Regions from separate parts of the Homo sapiens genome. Here region 1 is linked to region 2. Evidence: promoter capture Hi-C in human tissues and cell types (Jung and others, 2019). All regions are on one chromosome and are shown on one strand. Each heading gives the region's core, a stretch centred on a gene start or on the middle of the fragment in contact. The rest is flanking DNA. Distances are from core to core; before and after follow the strand shown.

Region 1 (3,942 bases), core at 164-2,663, 570 kb before region 2:
GGATGGGGACCACATGTGTGCCAAATGCCTGCAGCTCTGGTTAATCTTGGCTTGGGAGTGATTATTTGCTGATGGTGATGGGGAGAGGGGACCGGGAAGAAAGTTCACTTCTCATTCTTTAGTGATGTGTAAATGTATTGCCATTGGCTCTTATTAGGTAGCTCTAAGCCAGTGACGGAAAAATGTTTTCATTGGCAGGAAAACACGTTTTACATCCACATACATGCATATCTACTTTTTGGCAGATGCAGAAACTTTGTGGCTTAGACTCCCATCCTATTCCTCTGTTTGTTGGATCCTACCAATGACTTAAGGCCTTGCTCAGTGCCTGTCTCCTACAAGAAGTTTTTCTTGACAACTCCAGTACGCACTGCTTTCTCCGTGAGCGTGGCTCTTGTTGCAATGGTCGTCTTCACCACAATCAGAGTAGATTTTCTAGAAAGGAGCTTAAGCTTTAGGACCTGCTAGTTATAAGAATGACTTCCAAGATCCCAGAAGCACCTTTGCTTGGGTTCACATGGTCACATGCTTTTGGTAAAAATGTAAAAGTAAGATTTTAACTGTCATAAGCTAAGGATGCTGTTGACTCTGTTTGCCCCTGCGTCACTTTTCCCTTGAGGAGTTGTGTGGTGATGGAGAGGCATGAGCATTTTGGGGAATCCAGCTAAGGAGAAGTTGAGTTGGAGATTTATTTGTTTTGGTCGAGTGGGATCTATATATATGGTTCACACTTCCATGTAGAGTCGAGAAATTGTTGGTTATTCTTGGGTATTCTAGGCTTCCAGGAACCCTCTTGCTCAGTGCATGCTCTGTGGCATCATGGGTCTTATTATGATTTAAATGTTTCCTATGATGCCTGACACTGGAAGCATGTGGGAGTGAAGAAGAAGCAAGAGTTAAAATGTGCAGAATGAGAAGCTAATCTGTGGAATGTTCTTTCAATCATCAGCTGTACACAATTATGAGTGAAATATTTGGTTCTCATTGATGTCTAGTCAAGACAGAAATTATCTTCAGGAAAATACTCAGAAATGTGGTATATACAATTATAATGCACCATACTATCATACTTTTAAAGTAGAAATCAATGCAAAATAGAATTGATTAGAATTCTCGTGTTTGTAGAGCACAAAGCTGTAGCAATACTATAAACTGTGAAGTATCATTTTTATGCATGCCAAACTGCATTTTATGTCTACCAACATATTGAGTCAGTCTTAGCATATCTGATATAACTTGTCCTGATGAAACCTGGCAACACCAGACAAAAAAACATTCAAAAGCACTAAAATCACAGCAAAGCACCCTAAGTGTTCTTGTCACAAAGCTCCCAAGCATATTCATCCATAAGTTATTGTACACAGCAGAGGGAGAATTCAATTAAACAATTATGTAGCTCTATCCAACATAATGGCATTTTAAAATGCATTTGAATTGCTTTGTCTTCTTTACATGAAAATGATATTGCACAGTTGTTATGTGACGAGATGATCATATGAAAAGTATGCAGCCAAAGAATAGGAAAAAATATTGTAGAGGTTATGTCATTTTTCAGGATTTTGTTATATTTGTGGTGTTTGTCACTTTTCAAAAATGTGTGGCCGGGCACGGTGGCTCACGCCTGTAATCTCAGCCCTTATGGAAGCAGAGGTGGGTGGATCTCTTCAGCTCAGGAGTTTGAGACCAGCCTGGGCAACATGGCAAAACCCTGCCTCTACAAAAAATACAAAAATCAGCCAGTTATGGTGGTGGGTGCCTGTGGTCCCAGCTACTTGGGAAGCTGAGGTGGGAGGATCACTTGAGCCTGGGAGGTGGAGGTTGCATTGAGCCATGATAGTGCCACTGTGCTCCAGCCTGGGTGACACAGTGAGATCTTATCTCAAAAAAAAAAAAAAAAAAAAAGAGCAAAAATGTGTAATTTGTTACGATTTCATATTTCAATCTAAATAAACTTTCACTCTTTTTCTGAGACAGGGTCTCCCCCTGCAGCCCAGGCTGGAGAGCAGTGGTGCAATCATAGCCCACTGTAGCCTCCAACACCTGGGCTCAAGTGATCCTCCCACCTCAGCCTCCCAGCTAGCTAGGACTATCCCACACCCAGCTAGTTTTTCTAACTTTTTTGTAGAGATGGGGTATCACTATGTTGCACAGACTGGTCTTGAACTCCTGAGCTCAAGCAAGCCTCCTGCATCGGCCTCCCAAAGTGCTGGGATTACAGGTGTGAACCAGTGCACCTGGCCATAAATATTTACTTTTATATGTAATTTTGTATTTCTATTTTGAATTCTTATCCTTAGAGTCTCCTTCCTCCATAAACAAGCTTCAAAACCCACAATTCCTGAATTAGCCTTTGACCACAGTTGAGTAGTATTTTATGCTCTTATATTATTCTTATAAAAAGTATTGAATTTAAAAGCATGACAGTTTATGCCTGGGGACAGAATTTTCAACAATACAGAGCTTTGTGTGGAAAGTAAATAGTGTAGTCTCCCAGCACACCTGACTCCCCGCAGGTCACCACTGTTGGTTTGATGTCATTCTATTCTCCTTTTTCTTGAGCCAGTTCATTGTGATTAAGTGTGGCTTTGGAGCGAGCTACCTGGGTTGACTTATGCCTCTGCCCCTGTGGCCTTGGGAAAACTACTAAATCTATTAGTGCCTCCTCTTAAAGGAAAGATGTAATTGTACTGTACCTGTGTCGTAGGGGTGCTGGGAGGACAGTTTAGGGCTTAGAGGAGCAACCAACATGCTGTACTCATTTTATGTTAGTTTCATTTGGAAAATGCATATATTAGCATTACTTTGCAGATATTTCATGTGCCTAAGTATACTGGTCCTCCTCTCCCAAGACTGTAAACTCAAGGCTGGGAACTAATGTAAAACATCTTGAACATTGCCGCCTAATTCCTCAGAAATGTGTGGATGTGAGCGCCATCTAGCTGCATTATCTGTGGTTCTACTGTGACCACCAGGCACAATTCAGCTCACGTGGCTGTTCTGGCTCAGCAGTTGTTGGATTTGTCAGGAAATGGAGGATGACAGTGGTGTGACCAGCATATCAGGAGGCACTCAGGAGAAGTTAGCGATCCAGTGGAATGAAGAGTATCTCTGAAATGGGATGAGATGGAAGGCCACATCCACGGAACATAGAATAGTTTGAGATTTATACAAAACTTGAAGCCGCACAAAGCAAAAGCTGTCTCCGTGTCCCATTGCAAAGGCACTCAGGGCCAGGCGTGGTGTCTCATGCCTGTAATCCCAGTACTTTGGGAGGCCAAAGCAGGAGGATCGCTTGAGGCCAGGAGTTTGAGACCAGCCTGGCCAACATAGTGATACCCTGTCTCTACAAAAAAACAGAAAAATTAGCCGGGCATTGTTGGTGTATGCCTGTAGTCCCAGCTACTTGGGAGGCTGAGGGAAGAGGATCACTTGAGCCCACGAGTCTGAGGCTTCAGTGAGCTCTGGTTGTGCCACTGCACTCCAGCCTGGGTGACAGAGCAAGACCTTGTCTCAAAAAAAAAAAAAAAAAAAAAAAAGAGAAGAAGAAAAAAGAGAGAAGAAAAAAATCACTAAGAAGCGTCACTAAAATGTGATTTTCAAGAAAGGCATGGTAAAAATGTGAAAAGGGAGTGGGTAGACATGAAACCTTTCCAAGATAACACAGCTCAACAGTTACGTACAGAAGCCGCTAAAACAAAATAAGTGTGGATGATAAAAGATCAAAGGATGGAGCCATTTTAGAAAGAAGAAAGAAGGTTGTTTGGTATATATCTTATCATCTTAAAAGACTTTCTCTAGTTAACAAATACTACTAGATTTCAATCATAGACTTTGTAATGGAGTATACAACAGTTACTCAGTCCTCCCACAAATTCACAATCTGATATTCAGTGAAAAAAGACCATTCCAGATGAATATGAACCAAATTTTGTTTAAAAAATA
Region 2 (4,109 bases), core at 253-2,752:
CTCGCTCTGTCGCCCAGGCTGGAGTGCAGTGGTGCCATCTTGGCTCACTGCAACCTCTCCCTCCTGGGTTCAAGTGATTCTCCTGCCTCAACCTCCCGAGTAGCTGGGATTACAGGTACCTGCCACCATGTCCAGCTATTTTTTGTACTTTTAGTAGAGACGGAGCTTCACCATGTTGGCCAAGCTGGTCTTGAGCCCCTGACCTCAGGTGATCTGCCCACCTCGGCCTCCCAAAGTGTTGGGATTACAGGCATGAGCCACCGCGCCTGGCCATGGATATTAATTGAACATTCATTCAACGAACATTTATTGAACACCTGTTATAAGTGTTGGGGATACCAAGCATCTAGTGCATAATTTAGCAAAACAGATAGTTTAAAGAAAATAGTGTTAATACTTACCCCATGATATGGCAAGTACTTAGCGAATGTATCAATTGAGTGGTTTGATAGGTGGGGGAAGTGAGAGGTGATAGGGTGATAGTGGTGGTGAGTTAGAAAAAGTCTCTCACAGGCAGTACTGTTGGAATGATTATTTTCGGTAAGTTTACCAGGTAAATTCTTTGTGGATTAGGTAATGAATTTTATTAACCATTGCATCTTTGAAGCTTAGCACAGAGATTATACTTAGTAATGTAAGTATATTGGTGGAACAAACAGAACCCATAAAACATTTTGGGTTCAGCCTATTGACTTCATTGTATCGGTACAATTTTTCTCCATGTTGGGAATAGCTGGAGAGAAATTGAGAAATCAAGAAGGATGTTGATGCTTTTTAAAGAGTGTGGATGTATCCTATAGGCAACTGGGCTAGGAGAAGCTTTTAAGCAGGAAAGTTGTAGGACCAACTTTGTTTATTAGGAAGAAAATAGAATTGGAGGGTAAAGAGATCAAAAGTCAGAAAATGTTGGGAGATCATTGCCTGGGTGAGCGATGATGTTGGGTTTTTGTGACAGCAAAAATGGAGAGGAAGGGCTGAATTCTGAGAGTTTTTAAGCCTATAAGATGTAGTGACGATGAGATGAGGGAGGAAAGATGGAGAAAGTGAAAATGAGAACAACAGGGTTTGTTATGAGGCTTGTGGGCGATAACGTATGTGACAGCAATCTATAAACCCAAAATATTGCACACGGTTGTTTTTATTATCTTTTTCTAGTTGCTCTGAGTTTAGATTGAGAAGGTGGCTGTACTTTTGGAGACGTGTTCATATCTAAGGAAGATACCAAATTTCGGATTAGGTTTTTATTTCGGAGACTTTTCAAGGAACATGAGAAGATTATCTGAGAAGATTATCTGCGCAGACAGGCCGAGCGACGGAAAGAACTCAGTTCAGCTCCATCTCAGGAAACACCTGATCTCCACGAGCTTTTGAGGAAGCCCGGAGCCACAGAGCCCCACCCACTTCTTTCCCGACCGCGCCATCCTTCCTCACTCCCGGCCTCCTCTCTAGCCAATCACCGCTCAGTTTAACGTCATCACCGAGCGCCATCAGGGAGCGTGTCAGAGGCCGACCACGTGTACTGTGGAGACTGTCAAAGTCTCCCGGAGCCCAATTTCCGGAAGCGGTGAGTTCTGAAAGAAGTTCCTGCACCGTAGTTTCCCAAGTCTGCGAATCCCCAACCATGAGCGCCTCGGGCGTACTGTCCTTTACCCAGCAAGGATGGGAGCAGGTGCTGGCCAAAGTGAAACGGGCTGTGGTTTACCTGGACGCCGCCTGCGCCGAGAGCCTGCACTGGGGCTGCGGATCCACCCGTCTCCTGGAGGCGGTGGGGGGTCCTGACTGTCACCTGCGAGAGTTCGAGCCCGACGCAATTGGTGGTGGAGCCAAGCAGCCCAAGGCAGTGTTTGTGCTGAGCTGCCTGCTGAAAGGCCGGACCGTGGAGATCCTACGGGACATCATCTGCCGCAGTCACTTCCAGTATTGTGTGGTGGTCACAACCGTGAGCCACGCTGTCCACCTCACAGCTAATCATGTCCCAGCGGCGGCAGCGGCCGAGATGGAGGGGCAGCAGCCGGTGTTCGAGCAGCTGGAGGAGAAGCTGTGTGAATGGATGGGCAACATGAACTACACGGCCGAGGTGTTCCATGTCCCGTTATTGCTTGCCCCTGTTGCTCCCCACTTTGCCTTGACTCCAGCTTTTGCATCCCTTTTCCCACTGCTACCCCAGGATGTGCACCTCCTTAATAGCGCCCGACCGGACAAGAGGAAGCTGGGAAGCCTGGGTGATGTGGACTCCACTACGCTAACCCCAGAGCTGCTGCTGCAGATCAGATGCCTAGTGTCAGGCCTCAGTTCTCTGTGTGAACATTTAGGAGTACGGGAGGAGTGTTTTGCTGTAGGTTCCTTAAGTCAGGTCATCGCTGCGGATCTGGCCAATTATGCCCCTGCAAAGAACAGGAAGAAGACTGCTGCAGGCAGGGCATCAGTGGTTTTTGTGGACAGAACCCTGGATCTCACAGGTAAGTGCATTGCTCTGGAGTTCTTCATTACCATTCCCCACATTGCTGGGACTTTCATTGATTCAGCATATATTTTATTGACCTTTTATTATATATTAGATTGAGGATACAAAGATGAACTAGATGGACACGGTCTCTAATCTCACAGAGTTTATTGTCTAAAGTGGAATACAGACAGGTGAATTAGCAATTACAATAACATTTGTTAAATGCTGTAATGGGTAGAAATGTCATAAATGCCCATTGCCTTGTTAAACAACAACTTTAGCCCAAGATTATGCTGACAGGGAGGAAAACTGTGCACCTGGGAAATTTTATTTTTAGAAATTTACGAATGCCAGTATTCACAACAGTCCTTCATAAGAAGACTCTGGTTTGTTGGAGAAGTGTTAATAGATGACCCAGCGGAAGGAAAACTACTGCACAAGAAAACATAAAATTATTACAGACAATTGAGGTTTAGGAAATGAGTGTTCAAAAGTGAGGCTGAACTTAAATGTTACTAGTAAATGAGATGAAATAGAATTGTAGAAAATATTTTCAAATGTTTATTGATTTATTTTTAGCTCTCATTGTATTAAAGATTAAGTAAATAATCTCAAATTGTAATAATGTATTATTTACACAAAAGAAACAAATGTAATCCTTAAAGCAGATGAAGAAAAGACACTTTCTGATGTTTGATATGTTATTTTCAAAGGTCAACTTTATTGTTCTCTAATTAGGTTGTATAATACTGTTAGTAATATAGCCTAGCCACTTCCAAGTCCAGGGAGAATAATCGGAAAACTGACATTGGTAGGCATTCCCTTTAATCGGTCAGAAAAAAAGTTGAATTAAGTTATAAAAAACGAAATAGGTATATTTGAGTTTTTAATCTTAATAAGATTAATTTTCAGATAAAAAATGGAAAGTAGGCTAAATGGTAATACTGAGATGTAAACTTAATTATGTGACTGGAAAAACCAGGTGTCCAGTCTGTGATTTAAATATATAAGTAATAACTGTAGCATCACAGAGTCCATAGGGGATTAAAAGATAAAACCTGATAAGTAGATGCTTGTTGAGTTTTTTTGTGGATGCTATATATTACTGTTACTTCTATCTCTTTATGCCAAAAATGTAGCAAAGTTGTTTCATAATCAACTGGGAAGTTCACATAATTTTGTACCCTCCCCTAAGACTTCTGTTAGGCAAAACTTAATATCCCACTGTCCAGCATCATAGTAACAGCTCTTTACATCTTCAGTAGGTAATGCTTTTTTTTTTTTTTTTTTGAGACGGAGTCTCTCTCTGTCGCCCAGGCTGGAGTGCAATGGCGCAATCTCGCGAGGCTCACTGCAAGCTCCGCCTCCCGGGTTCACGCCATTCTCCTGCCTCAACCTCCCGAGTAGCTGGGACTACAGGCGCCCGCCACTACGCCGGGCTAACTTTTCGTATTTTTAGTAGAGACGGGGTTTCACCGTGGTCTCGATCTCCTGACCTCGCGTGATCCACCCGCCTCGGCCTCCCAAAGTGCTGGGATTACAGGCGTGAGCCACCGCGCCCTTTTTTTAAACATACAGAATAAATAAGGTGAGCATAACTTCTGCCCTCTAAAAGTTTACAATATAATGTAGTCAAGTATCAATATAACGTAGTCAAGTATGA

What was found. The method cuts DNA at HindIII sites, captures the fragments that hold promoters and counts their contacts. A contact is called where the count stands out against the background at its distance.
Region 1: a contact is called between a fragment that was not itself captured here and the fragment with the promoter of SCFD2 in region 2, in 2 of the 25 tissues and cell types used here (aorta and spleen).

The regions. Positions count from the first base shown.
Region 1 is chr4:53,929,179-53,933,120 of GRCh38, reverse strand. No RefSeq gene overlaps it. Among named protein-coding and RNA genes, the nearest start is that of CHIC2, 130 kb to the left of the region's middle. RefSeq lists a silencer at 2,870-3,034. The HindIII fragment of the contact is 4,528 bases long and covers 1-3,677 here.
Region 2 is chr4:53,363,454-53,367,562 of GRCh38, reverse strand. It overlaps SCFD2 (sec1 family domain containing 2), which reads left to right and starts at 1,502. Exons shown (of 9, transcript NM_152540.4): 1 at 1,502-2,459. The coding sequence starts at 1,622. RefSeq lists enhancers at 1,537-1,586, 1,607-1,806, 2,027-2,076. The HindIII fragment of the contact is 11,346 bases long and covers 164-4,109 here.